Regions from separate parts of the Homo sapiens genome. Here region 1 is linked to region 2. Evidence: promoter capture Hi-C in 16 types of primary human blood cells and fetal thymus (Javierre and others, 2016). All regions are on one chromosome and are shown on one strand. The core of a region is centred on a gene start or on the middle of the fragment in contact, and the rest is flanking DNA. Distances in the headings are between cores, read along the strand shown. Region 1 overlaps ABHD5 (abhydrolase domain containing 5, lysophosphatidic acid acyltransferase). Region 2 holds the start of POMGNT2 (protein O-linked mannose N-acetylglucosaminyltransferase 2 (beta 1,4-)).

The links. Contacts are between HindIII fragments. The CHiCAGO score rates a contact against its expected background, and 5 or more counts as called.
Region 1: a contact is called between a fragment that was not itself captured here and the fragment with the promoter of POMGNT2 in region 2, in 1 of 17 cell types (fetal thymus). The highest score is 5.1, in fetal thymus.

Annotation. Positions count from the first base shown.
Region 1 is chr3:43,691,414-43,698,600 of GRCh38, reverse strand. The region is part of intron 1 of ABHD5 (abhydrolase domain containing 5, lysophosphatidic acid acyltransferase); the gene reads right to left. It also overlaps a transcript of ANO10 not described here. Among named protein-coding and RNA genes, the nearest start is that of ABHD5, 4.1 kb to the right of the region's middle. RefSeq lists a silencer at 7,012-7,187. The HindIII fragment of the contact is 2,088 bases long and covers 2,499-4,586 here.
Region 2 is chr3:43,101,938-43,108,341 of GRCh38, reverse strand. It overlaps POMGNT2 (protein O-linked mannose N-acetylglucosaminyltransferase 2 (beta 1,4-)), which reads left to right and starts at 2,263. Exons shown (of 2, transcript NM_032806.6): 1 at 2,263-2,506. RefSeq lists a silencer at 2,176-2,495. The HindIII fragment of the contact is 5,763 bases long and covers 1-4,942 here.

The DNA of each region.
Region 1 (7,187 bases), core at 2,293-4,792, 590 kb before region 2:
TCTGAGGCAGCTAGTGAGGAAAGGCATGGGGAGGCTGCAGTTGACATACTTTGCTTGTAGCCAACAAAAGAGAGGGTAAGCCTCAACTCCTGGCCTGGCAGTCACAAACCAAAAGCTTACTGTAATAACCTGACATAATGCAGAGCTTCAGTAGTCATTTGACAGTTAGCAAGGGCTCGGTGCATGGCTGGTATTATTTAAAATGAGAACTTTCTGATGAAAAAGAAATGAATTAGAAGAGGAAAAGTGAACTACTGCAGAGTCCAGATGAGAGGTAAGGGCCCAATCCAAGGCTTTGGCAACAGGGATAGAGACAAGAAGATGTAGTCAAAGAATATTTAAAAGGAAAACAGGTTGGATTTGATAACTGGTTGGAGATAAAGAAGTTATAATAAGGATTCCCAGGCGTCTCTCTTAGGTTACCACTATAATGACAGACAACACAAGAGTAAGAATAGGTGTGAGAGGAAAATGTGCTAAGTTTTGGAAGGGTTGTGTACCAACATCTAGCTTTTCTTACCTTTGTAGGTTCATCCTACTATATTTCCCTTCCCTGTAGAATTTATCTGGATATTACGTATAACAGGTACTCAATCAATAATGTTTGCTGAGTGATTAAGTCACTCACAATCCAGGGGATTCTCAGTCCAAATTATCCCCATTTCATAGATGTAAAAACTGAAGTTCAGAAATGTTAAGCACCAAGTCCAAGGGTATACAGCTAGTAAGTAAGTAAGTTTGATTCTGAGCCACTCCAAAGTGCTTTTTTCTCAAATGACTACCTTCCTTAAAATGTCTGAAGGGTTGCCCATTACCTACAGGATAAGTCTATATTTTCCTGGACCTGCACAGAAGGTACTTTGCAATCCATCCACAGCCTACCTCCATCCCATCTTTTCTTTTCATATATTGTACTTTTTCCAGTACTTCATATCTCTCAAAATTTCATATGATTACATGTCTCTATGGCTTTGCACAGCTCTTATAAATTACCCAGTCTCAGGTAGTTCTTTATAGCAGCATGAGAATGGACTAATACACAGGCCATTAAAATAAAAGAACTCATGATTTTTAGAGGTTAAAGGTGAAGCTCTTTTGTCCTTGACCAGCCATTAGGTCTATATTTAACCATAAAAATATGAACTAGTACCAACAAGAAATTACTTACAACTCAATCTCATCCATTGTCTTAAACAAACATCCCTCGAACCATATCACAATTATTTGCCAGAGAGAATCAGAGGTCAATTAAAAAAAATTACAGTGAAATGAAGTATAAGCTACTATTGCTCCAGTTGATATCACAGACAAACTGGGGCAAAGAAAACACAAATGCATTCTTTGCATTAAAAAAGGATACTTTTTTAAAAAACGACACTCAAAAAATAATTCAGACACTGAATACCTACTATGTACAAAGCACCAGTGTTTAAAAAGTTACATACCAGCCTGTAATGGAAGAATCATGCCTACCTCCACCAACTTACCACTTACCACAAAACCAGCTTTCAAACAATGGGACTGTCTGTCCATGGATTTGCCTTCTAGTGACCAGCTCAACTCAGAGAAGGGGCAAAACATGTTTTCATGTTTGTAAGCTTACATTAAAAAGTAGGGATCTTCAACCATAAGAAGAGGCACCAACTCTCTTCAGGTTTTCACAGAAGCATTTTCATCAAAACAGGTGATTTTTTAAAGTGGGTTTTTTTCTAACAGAAAAATATATATTTAACAAAACATAGCAAGATATTTTTACTCTTAATGGAATTGTAAAGATAGCACTCTTCCCCTAAGCCCTGATAATGCTTCTGTCCAGTTTCACTTTAACCAGATGATTAAATGTTTTACAGAAACTATCCTCTGCTTCTTTGAGACACTCTACAGGATTAAGTGTTATATACATAATAGGCTTCAAGGAACATTTCCAATGAGTAAAAAGCAAGGGCCTTATCTTTTCCACCCTTTAGTTGATTCCTGTTTGTTCAAAGGTCTCATACCTTACCTTGCAACCTCTATTGCTTCAACCCTTTAAAACTTACCCATCCAACTCTACCTCCTGTCTTCGGGATAAATTAATCTCACCTTCAAAGAGACCCTTTGCCCCCTCCCCAGTGGTATCCTATGCCATTCAGTGTTGCTCAGCATTCCTAGGTTTAGTATATAGAAGACTGGAACTAAGGACACAGGACTGAAGCTTGTCAGATATTCTGCCATTCTTCTGAGGTCACAAAATTCAAGGCAAAAATTAAATTCACACAGCCCACCTATAAAACAGTAAACTAGATTCAATGCCTCTTCCTCATAGCTTTGGAAAATAAATAGAAAAGCAAAACCTAACTTCTCTATTTTATTTAAGGAGACAAGCAATAAACACTATCATCCATCACTGAGGCCTAAATTCAACAGTGACCAAAGTGTCAACTGTAATACAAAGAGAAGTCATTCACCACAGGAACTATAGCTTTCTAATAGTAAGCATCTATGACATGGGGAAAGCTTACCAATGCAAGCCAAAAAGTTTTCTACACAGCCCCATCAGTTGGGCACTTACCTTATTAGCAAGGCAAAGGATATAAGCCCTAAAGCATCTAATCACAGAAACAAAAACAAAAAAAGAAAGGATTCTTGTTTTACAACCATTGTAGTGCAAACTAAGAATCTTTTTAGTGAGCAGACTTTTGAGTAAGAAAAGTTATAAAAGATCACATCAGAGGTGACAATTCTAAGGAAAGCCAAGTAAGATGTGCTTAACATATTAATAGAGTATATTTTACCTAAGAATCTGACTTTAAGTATCCTGAGTGAGAGATAGACACCACTTTTTCCATTAACTTTTTACGTAATCCTTCTAAAAAAATATTATGTCATACTTATACTCCATACTATCAACACTTAAGTTTCCTGGTAATCTCTGTTTTGTTCTTTAACACATCTGTCTATCTACAGTATTACTAAACCTGAATTGCACAATCTATAAACATTATGAAACAGTGAAAGAGGTTTCGAAGTATTCTGAAGAAAATATGCAGAAATCTGGCCAGTTTCCATACACTCTTGGCCACTTAATATTTCTAATTAGGTTATAAGTAAAGAGGATTTCATTATATTAAAATTTTGTTTAAAATGGCCTCCATTCCTATTCTAGTAGTTGAGAGAGAAAAATCACATAAACTTATTGCTCTTGATAAACCTAAGCACAGCTCTCTATCTCATTTAAAGAAACCATGAGGCTTTGATTTTTATTATAAATATCCAAATGAATTACAGGTATGAATATATACATTTATTTATATTTACATTTATATTTATCTGAGATACTTCCTCAACCAATGACTAAAAACATCCAAATTGGAAATTATAACACTTGGGTAAATAAAGACCTTTCTTGGGAATTGACTTTTTAAATCCTATTCTTGGGAAAGAGAAAAAGAAAAGAAAAAAGCGTACTTTGGGAGGCTGAGGTGGGAGGATTGCTTGAGCTCAGTCAGGAGGTCAAGACCAGCTGCCTGGCACATGCCTGTAGTCCCAGCCGCCTGGCACATGCCTATAGTCCCAGCAACCTTGGGGGGGTGGAATACAGGGGCTGGGGGGCAAGTTGCTGAGGTGGCAGGATTGCTTGAGCCCAGGAGGTTGAGGCTGCAGTGAGCCATGATTGTGCCACTGCACTCCAGCCTGGGTGACAGAGCAAGAACCTGTCTCTGGAAAACAAACAAAAAAAAAAGAATATGGTCTCATACAGCTACAATTTAAGTGACTAACATGCCATTTTATTTTGGATAAATGATACTTAAGTGATTCAAATTATCACTATTAGATCAATGACAATCCAGGCCCTCTAATATATGTTAACACATTAATTAATACTGTTTTAACTGCCCCTCCCCCCCCAACCTGTAACTTTTAAAGACTCAGATTGGTAGTATAAGTGTTTTAGACAAGCCATGTGCTGGTAACACGTATCTCCCCATTGTTTCCTACCTTCCTTCACACAGTAAACAAACCATTTTAGAGTCACTTATATGACCTCATTATCAAACACACTTGAAGAAGCCACAGGTGTACTCTACTTAACAAGTCAGTGACATTTCTTTGCATCAGTTCTAAAATAAGTTCATTCACTAGATAATAAAGAGAATAAAACTAAAAATCCTAGGTCTCAACTGAATAATCAGTTTTAATAAAATCACCTCTCCATATGATTTTTTTTAGTAACTCACAATCAGGAGTGGGAATTACAGAACCATGAGATTAAACTAATAATCTAACAATTAGTCAAGGCAATGATTAAGCCAATATAATGTTTCAAGAGGAAGAACTGAGCTTTTTTTTTTTTTTTTTTTTTGAGACGGAGTCTTGCTCTGTCGCCCAGGCTGGAGTGCAGTGGCACGATCTCGGCTCACTGCAAGCTCCGCCTCCTGGGTTCACGCCATTCTCCTGCCTCAGCCTCCCGAGTAGCTGGGACTACAGGCGCCGCCACCTTGCCCGGCTAATTTTTTTGTATTTTTAATACAGACGGGGTTTCACGGTGTTACCCCAAAGTGCTAGGATTACAGGCGTGAACCACGGCGCCCGGCCAGAACTAAGCTTTTTATATCGTTTAGTTTAGGAGCAGGAAGGTAAAAATAAGATCATGGTCTGGACATGTTAAATTTGAGGAATCAGGCACAAACATCTGACAATTAGAAACATTACCAGAGTACAGAAGAGGGCTCCAGAAAGAAAATGAGATCTGAGTCATCTCCACAGACAAGACAGTTCACGTTTGAGTAAACAAGATGAAAAATAAAAACAAGGATGATGACAGAATCTTGGAAAATGACTACATTTAGAGAATGCAAAAAAAAAAAAAAGAGGAGAAACTAATAAAAGTTATTGTTGGTCAGGTAAGGTAAGATAAAAGGCAAAATGTCATTAAGACCTAGAATGTCTAATAAGAGTTTCAAAAAGTAGTAGCTATCATTACAGTAACAAACACCAAAAAGGACCCAAGAAGAAGTACTGAAAAAAACTAGAAGGCCATTGGGATGTGGCAGTGAAAAGTTTTGTGATTTTTAAGATATCAGGTGGCAAAGGTTTGGGAAGGAGAGAAGGCAGCAGAGAGAAAGGCACATATCTTGCCAGTTTTTAAAAAGATTAGATAGAGAAATCCACTCTCCTATCTCCAAGGCAAAGACCTACATTCACAGTCTAATGTAAACCCAGTGGGGAGCTGGCAAACAAACTGAAGCAGGGAGGGGAGAGAAAAATCCCTTATTTATACCTTATTTATAGCATTTGATGATTTCCGTGGTGTAAATACTCCCACCATGGCCAATTTCAAGCTGCCAACCGTTGGCAAAATTCCTGAAAATTTAGCAATGGCTTGCTGGTACAAATCAACTCCAGCACACAACTGCAAATCACCTCTTTTATGGTCTACCCTGCAACTGAGCAATTCTGTGACAGCTTTCTCTCAACTCAATTGACACTAAATCATTCTCTAGGACAACTTAAAGCAATTCACAGAAGTCTACTCTACTCTCATTACATTTAGCTTTCTCAACTGTATTGCAACTGAAAGGGGTTGGATGTTGAAAGCAAAATGGATCCCAGTATGCCTGTCTTCACTAAGTGCCACAAAGCAAAGGACAAGAATCATATTCTCCAAAAAGCCATCAGATGACCATTTTATAACTTTCCTTTGTTAATGTTATCTCCCTATCTAAACCTCAAATGTCTTAAGGGTAGGGAACTGTATTCAAACAAGAGCCAAACATCCCACATGAGTCCCAATTCCAGTGACAGGCAGCAGGGATACAGGGTAAGCACCTTAGATTAAATCCAGACACCTCAAAGGGTTCCACAAAGGGTTCCAATCCAGCCCTGCTACTTGCTGGCAGGCTGTTAGCAGCCTTTACAGTGGCAGTTTCAACTGCAAAATGGGAACAATAATACCCAGCACACAGGGGCAACCTTGGATTTAACAGGATCACTTCTGGGGATAGTCACTGGACACTGCTAAAGCATATTGCCAAGAATACCAGCGAAGCCCACTTCTGTCTAGAAACTATGGCTGATCAGCTGCTAAGGATTTTTTAATCATCTACCTCCAATGACCTCCAACCATCACTCCAAGCCATAAAACCCTTTCACGATTGTGTCCTGGACTCCAAGGCCCCACTACATCAAAACCAAATAGTCCACCTGAAAGTAGTGTCAAGAGTCAAAAATGTTGTGACAAACAAGATGAGAACACAACCTACCAATTACGTTCCTACTTGCGTCCACATGACATTCAACATTTCACCTCAGTGCAACGAGGAAGTTCATCAACAAACCTCAACAAATAAACAAAACTCAAGAGAATAACTTCCTTTCTAATATTTCACAATTTTTCCCCATGACATCTTTCCAAATATCCCTGTCTTCATGGTACTCCATATTCTATCATTTAGGTTATGTTTCCTAGGCAAATTTCTCCAGACGTCTGAAGTAGAACCGACGTCAAAAAATTAAATATATATGGGGGAAGTTTACTTTCCAATACAAACGACAGGCCTTGAGAAACAAGGCAATAACCTCCATAACAATTTAATTATTCCACTCATTAACTACTATTCTTCTACTAACAAGTGCAAGAAGTCATTTAGGTGTAGAAAAGAATAAACTCACTATACCTGTATATAAAAAAGTTTCACATTAGACATCTGCCCTCCAACTTCCACAGTTTCCTATACATTATGTGTGTTCTTCTAAGGCACATGCAACACACACTTCGCCAGTAAAGCCAGAATAATCCCAGAAGCGCAAACAAATAAGGGACAGTGGAGCTTGCAAGCCAAAGACCTTCATCCGAAAGATGAATTATGACATTTGAACGTGTATCTCTATCTTAAGGGCTAACTTTCTTTCTATGAAGTATCTGAAACTCACAGCCATACACCCACTTCCCTCACTCCTTCTCCCCTCCCTCCTTCCCGGCACCCCCGCCCTCCCGCCGCTTCCCGGGCGAATTCGGGCCTCTAATATCCCCTCCAAGGAAGCGCCGCCCCTTCCTACGGCTACGGGAAGGATCGTCCAGTGGCTGAGGCTGGACAGAGCACAGGTAGTACCTGTAGACGGAAGCCGCGATGGGAGGCTGACAGACCCGGTCATTTCCCGCGCCTCGCAGTCAGGTGCAGGGTCGACCGGGCACCGCCCGCCGGCGG
Region 2 (6,404 bases), core at 1,014-3,513:
TTTATCACATGTGTAGATTTGTGTAACCACTACCACAATCAAGACAAAGAACTATTTCATCAGTACAAAGGCTTCCCTTCTGTTACCCTTATATATTCACACCTACACCCTGTCTTCAACCTCTGACAACCACTAATATTTTCTCCATCTCTATAGTTTTGTCATTTCAAGAATGTTATACAAATGGCAACCAGAGTATGTAACCTTTTGAGACTGACTTTTTTTCACCCAGCATAATGCCCAAGTTGTGGCATGTGTCAATTGTGCCTTTCTATTGTTGAATGATATTCTTTATATAGATGTAATCACAGTTTATTTAACCATTCACCTATCGAGGGGCATTTTGTTTGTTGACAGTTTTTGACAATTACAAATAAAGAAAGTAGGAACAATTGTGTACAAGTTTGTGTGTTAACATAAGTTTCCATTTCTCTGGAATAGATGCTCAGGAGTGTGATTGATGAGTCATATGGGAAGCATATGTTTAGTTTTTTAAAAGAAACTACCATGATATACCCATCTGTGAGTAATATATGAGAGATCCAGTTCTGTGCATACTCACCAGCATTTGCTATTTTATTTTTTAAGCTGTTTTGTAGTTGTTGTTGTTGTTTGTTTGTTTTTGAGATGGAGTCTTGCTCTGTAGCCCAGACTGGAGTGCAGTGGCGCGATCTCGGTTCACTGCAACCTCCGCCTCCTGGGTTCAAGTGATTCTCCCCTGCCTCAGCCTCCTGAGTAGCCGGGTTTACAGACGCGCACCAACACATCCAGCTAATTTTTGTATTTTTAGTAGAGACGAGGTTTCACCATGTTGGCCAGGCTGGTCTTGAACTCCTGACCTCGTGATTCGCCAGCCATGGCCTCCCAAAGTGCTGGCATTACAGGCATGAGCCACCGCGCCCTGCCTTTTTAAGCTGTTTTAAATAGGTGTATGGTGATATCTCAGCATAGTCTTAATTTGCATTTCCTTTATGGCTAGTGATGAACATCTGTCCTTATTTGCCATCTGTATAACTACTTTGGTAAAATATATATTAATGTCTTCTGTATATTTAAAAACTTATGATCCAGGATACAGTTTATCTTAATATATATACCAAGGTTGCTTGAAAAGAATGTGTATTCTGTTGGTGGGTGAAGTATTATGTAAATATCAATTAGATTAGGATGGTATTAGTGTTGATCTTTTCTATATCCTTGCTGACTTTCTGTCTAGTGTTCTATCAGTTGTTGAGAGAGGGATGCTGAAGTTTCCAATTACAGTTGCAGAGTTGTCTATTTCTAATTATGGTTCTATCATTTGATTTATTTATGTTAAGGCTATGTCGTTAGGTGTATCCACATTTAGAATTATGTCTTCTTGGTGAATTGAACCTTTTATCATTATATAATTATCCCTTTTTTATTCTTGGTAATTTTCCTTGCTGTCAATTCTACTCTCTCTGAAAGTAATATCACCACTTCAGCCTTTCAGTTTATTATCATCTAAACAACACTATTCAGCCTTTGCAGTCATCCACAATTATTAGAATTTCTTGGTTAGAGGCTTTTGACTACATGTTTTTAAAGGTTTTTGGCTGTATTGACAAATTGCCCTGCAAAAATTTACCAACTTAATACCTTAACATTTGGGCTAATTTAAAATAATCATAAATTAAAGTCAGGGCTTTCCCAATTTGATAGGTAGAAATCTTATAACTCTATGGAGGTGGAGTTGGTGGTGGTAGGTGCATCTCTAGATGACTTAAGTTCAAAAAAAGTCAAGAGATCTAAAAAAGAAGTCAAAAGATCTAAAATTCATAACTCAAGAAATAGGGGCATATGTATATTCGGAGAATCCGCGGGAATGCCAGATGCCACAGCCATAAGTAGCTGCCCTTGAGGACTGGACAGCCAGGACTGGACGGTGGGATAAGGTGACAGCTGGTTAATGGAATGGTGCCGCAGAGGACTGGTGCTTTTGTAAGTTCTCTGTAGCATTACAATTTTTAAAAGCATGTAAACGTATTAATTACCTTGACTTTACAATGACATTTGGTTGTTGGTTAAACTTGCATTTAAATTTATTATCAGAACTGCCATAACTGTGTAATCCTAACACTAAGTAAAACTCAGCCTCTCGGCGCAAATTATCACTCCCAACATTCCGCAGGCTGGTGGCGGCGCGGGCTGTCCTCGTACGCAAAACTACACCTCCCAGGATTCCGCGAGCCAAGGTTGTGGCCGGGGCCAGGGCAACCGAACTCGCGGCTCTGCGCAGGCGCACAGGCTCCGCGCCGGGCTCGCCCGCCGGGCAGGCGCACGGCGGACACCTGCGAGCCTGGAGGTGGCGGTCGCTGCGAACCCGGCGGCGCGGCCAAACCTGTGCTGGCTGCCTGGGCCTTCTGGGCCTCCTGGGCCAGAAGCTGGCGCTGGGGGCGGCGGCGGGGTGGGAAAGCGGCGCCGCCGTGGGGCCTCCTGGACGCGTCGGCGGAGGTGGCTTCGTCCCGCGGAGTCCAGGCTTCAGGTAAGACGCGCGCGCGCTTGGGGCTGGAGCGGACTCCGACACCCGCCTGGGACTTGAAGTGGAGGTGTCGAACCCTCGGCCCCCTGGAGGGGACGACGCGGTGCTGGGCCCCGGGGTGAGGGGGAGGTTCTAGGACGCCTTCGGGATCCAGGAGAGTTTGCAGAACTGAGGGGTGACGTGTGAAGCGAGCTGAGGGAGGCGCGGGAGGTGGGCGGGGCGGGGGTGGACCCTCAGGGTCGGGGGCCGGGGATTGGGGGTCGGGGGCCGGGGGCCGGGGACCTGGGCAACGCCCTGGGGCTTGCCAGTTCGAGCCCTCAGCTCGTGGCAGGCACTGGCGTCGGGTCCTCAGGCCCTTTTGCTTTGGGAGGTGATGGGTGGTGCACATTTGGCGGGGGTGGTGGGGAGCCACGCGAGGTGCGCGGAGCGGGCCTGGGCCTCCCCAACTGCCTTTGAAGGCAGAACCCCGGCAGGCCTGCAGCTGATTCCTGGGCGCTTTGGGGGCCAGTAGGGCACCTACCATGTGTGTCCGGTGGTAAGAGCTTGCCACGGCCTGCTTGGCAGTGCCAGAGTAGCCTCTGAAGAAGGAACCCAGTGAACTCCTGACTCCATGTGTGTGTTTAGGAACCCGTCTCCAGCTCACTGATGGGAACTCTCTGCTAAAGTATGTGACCGTCAGGCCAGAGTCTTGCACCAGGTGCAGGGCGACCAGTGTCTGCCTACTTTATTGCCAGCCAACACTTAGAGCGTACTCTTGGGAGAAGCAAGGCTCCGCGTGGAAAAGGATGACTTCAGGGTTATGGGGCGAGCTTGATAGGACTTAGTAGCTAAGAGCATAGACAGAGGAGGTTTCATTCACCAAATGTTTACTACAATATGTGCCCCGCCTTCAAATCTTGGTTCTCGGCTACTAGCGGTGTGCGTTTAAGCAAGTCACTTATCCTCTCTTAGCCTCTGTTTCTTTCTCTGTGAAGTGGAGATGAAAGTACAGTGCCTTTATCACGGGGTTGCAGTGGGGATGAAATAGTGCCAGGCAAGTCCTCAGCCCAGTATGTCTAACAGTAAGTGTGTGGCAAATATCAGCAGTCGTGGTGACTAACGACAGAAAGTGTTAGAGGTGCTTGGAGTCCAGGTTCATCTTTAATGGTACTAGCTGCCCTCTCTGGCTCTCATGAATCTTGCAGATCTTCCAGCTCATCCTTTCAATATTAATTTTGAGGAATCTCAGTCCCTGCAGAGCTAGGAAAGAGCATAGGTCCCCTCATCCCCAGGGGTGGTCAGCACGTTCCTTCCTGAGCCTTGGGCCCCTGCGAGAACGAGAAGGAGAGTGGAGATCTTCAGCAGAAAGGAGGGCATGGTGCTGGTGGCTGGGCCCACCGTGGCCATGTAAGCATGCTAGTTGGCAAGTTCTTGCTCTGAGCCTTGCTTTAGAAAATATTTAGCAATAAACAAAGCCTTCTAGTAAATATTGCACTAACTAGAAAATTAGATTACCAAATCCCCCATTCCAAGGGTCCTTGCCAATCTCAGCTTGGTTGTCAGTGGGATACTTTCCCCCCAGGACCTACCAATCACGTGATTCCCAGGGTTTCTTAAATTGGATGAAATAATGAATGTGAAAGGTGGAACCTGCAAATGTCATCACGGGCTTTGGAGTCCGTCTTGGTTTTGAATCCTAACCCCTCTACTTAATTGCTGTGTATCACTGGGCAATTCACTTAATGCCTCTAAGCATACCTTCTTAAATGTGAAATTGAATTAATAGCATTTACTTCAGGTAGTGGGGAATAAATGAGATAATGCGTGTAAAACAGTTAGCACTGTGCCTGGCTGAGAGTGAAAGCCAGTGAACAGGAGTTATTTTACCATTACGATTAATAATAATATTAGAAAAATAATTGTCAGACATGGTGTTTTGCCTTTGCTGTCTCTTTGAATTCACAAAACTACCCTGTGAAGTAGGTATAATTGTGTTTTTCAAGCCAGGAAGTGAAGGCTTGGAGAGGTAAAGAATTGGCCTAAGGTCACTTAGCTGCTAAGTGACAGGGATGGGAATTCATATCCTGGCATCTCCAGCTCCAGAACTGGTGCCATGTAATTCTCCTTCTCTGCTGCCCATCGTCCTTGCTGTTCTTGCATTCTTGAAGCCCAGTTATGACCTGGGGCAGCCTCCAGTCTTGCAGCAGGGAGTCTTCCCGCACCAAGTGGGTCAGAGGCAGGACCCTGCAGCCTGGCTGTGTGTTTCCTCTCTGTGGCTGGTGTTGGATGCATGGTGAAGCTGTAGGGGACAGTCCCTGAGTGAGTTCAGGGGAGGAGGTGTTAGGAAGAGGCAGCCCAGGCAAGCCCTGTCGCCTCTTTAGGGTCTCATCACTGGACAGCAGGGCTGGGTGAGGGGGCAGTGCTGGGTGAGGGTGCAGGCTGGGTGGGATCTGGGAAGCTTGTGTATGAGAAGAAATGCCTTCGTTTAGCTCCTGGGAAATGTTCTGGGGCTGCATAATTCTCTGAGCCTTATCTTTGCTTTGTGAGGGAGAGCAGCCCTTGAGCTGTGGATAAGGGAGGAGAAGGAGCCCTGGACTGAGAGCCAACATTCTGCCATTTTAATCCTGGCTGCCTGTGAGAGCTCACACTGCCTCTCCAGACCTCTTTTATGAAATAAAGAGTTGGAGGAAATCATTTCTAAGGGTTCTTGTAGCTCTAAAGGGCAGTGGTTTTGTAATTCTAAATTGATGGCCTAACCCTCTCAGCACAGTACCAGGGCACATGGGATAAATTATCACACTAGTATGTTACTTAGACTCTCCTTAGGGTGAGAGAATGGCCACAGCTCCCTAAGCCACCTGTCACAGCTGGGTACCCTCTGCCTGGCTGGGTGGGGAGGAATTACAGCAAGAAGCCTTGGGTTGCTAAGTTACAGTCCAGGGCCTGTGGTTCTACATTTCCAGGGCCACCACACCTGCTCTGCCCTTGACTAATAAAAACTCACTGCTCTACAGTCTACTCTGCTTATCTGCCATTGAGTGTTCCTCCAAGTCTGATGACAGATGAGCACGGTACTAAGAACAAGACCTTAGTGAGAGGCAGGTTCAAATCCTGGTGGCCCTTCTTGAGCTTTAAGACCTTAAGCAAGGTACTTAACTCCACTAAAACTTGGTTTTCTCATGTTAAAAGAAAATGGGGATAATATTGGTACTGCATTGGAGGGTGAGGCTTAAATGAAATAGGTCAGGAAAAAGGCTTAAGACAGCGCCTCTCGCATAGTAGGTGCTCAGTAAAGTAAGATGGTGAGACCATTCATCTTTATCCCCTACCCAGAGGCCAACATCCTTTTTTTCTTAGTTAACCTGGACAAGTCCTTTTGTTTTCTCTGGCTTCCCATGTCTGCACTGGTACATACTCCAGCACCTCTAAGAGAATCAGATCTTTCACTCTGCCAGTGGTGACTGCCATTGGTACAAGCTTATGCTACAAATTTATCTGTTTTCTCCATTCTGAAAAGGCTAAGAGAAGGCCCCTTCTTTGCTGTGTAGTTGCTCCTCAGCCCTGAGCTAAGCCTTAGGAAGGGACTGGGGACCTGGTCTGCTGTATTGCCACACCCAGTGATGAAACACACCCCGGGGTCCTTTGACAGTGGAGGTTTGTGGCAGGAATCATGGCACATCCTGGAGTGGCATCTGGAGTTGCCACAGTTGTGCTGGGTCCCAGAGCTTCCAAGAGAGTCACACAGTAGCCATTGTAAGGAACTGGAGATGCTGTCCAAATTTGCTCTGTTCAGGGGCTTCTTTCTCGGGGGACCTACCTCCTCTCTGCTGGCCTGCAGGGATGGCCATCTCCCTATGTCCTCTACTGGTGGCTGCTTTAGACCCAGACTCCATCCTTAGTCCATTTAGCTGTGGCCAAGAGA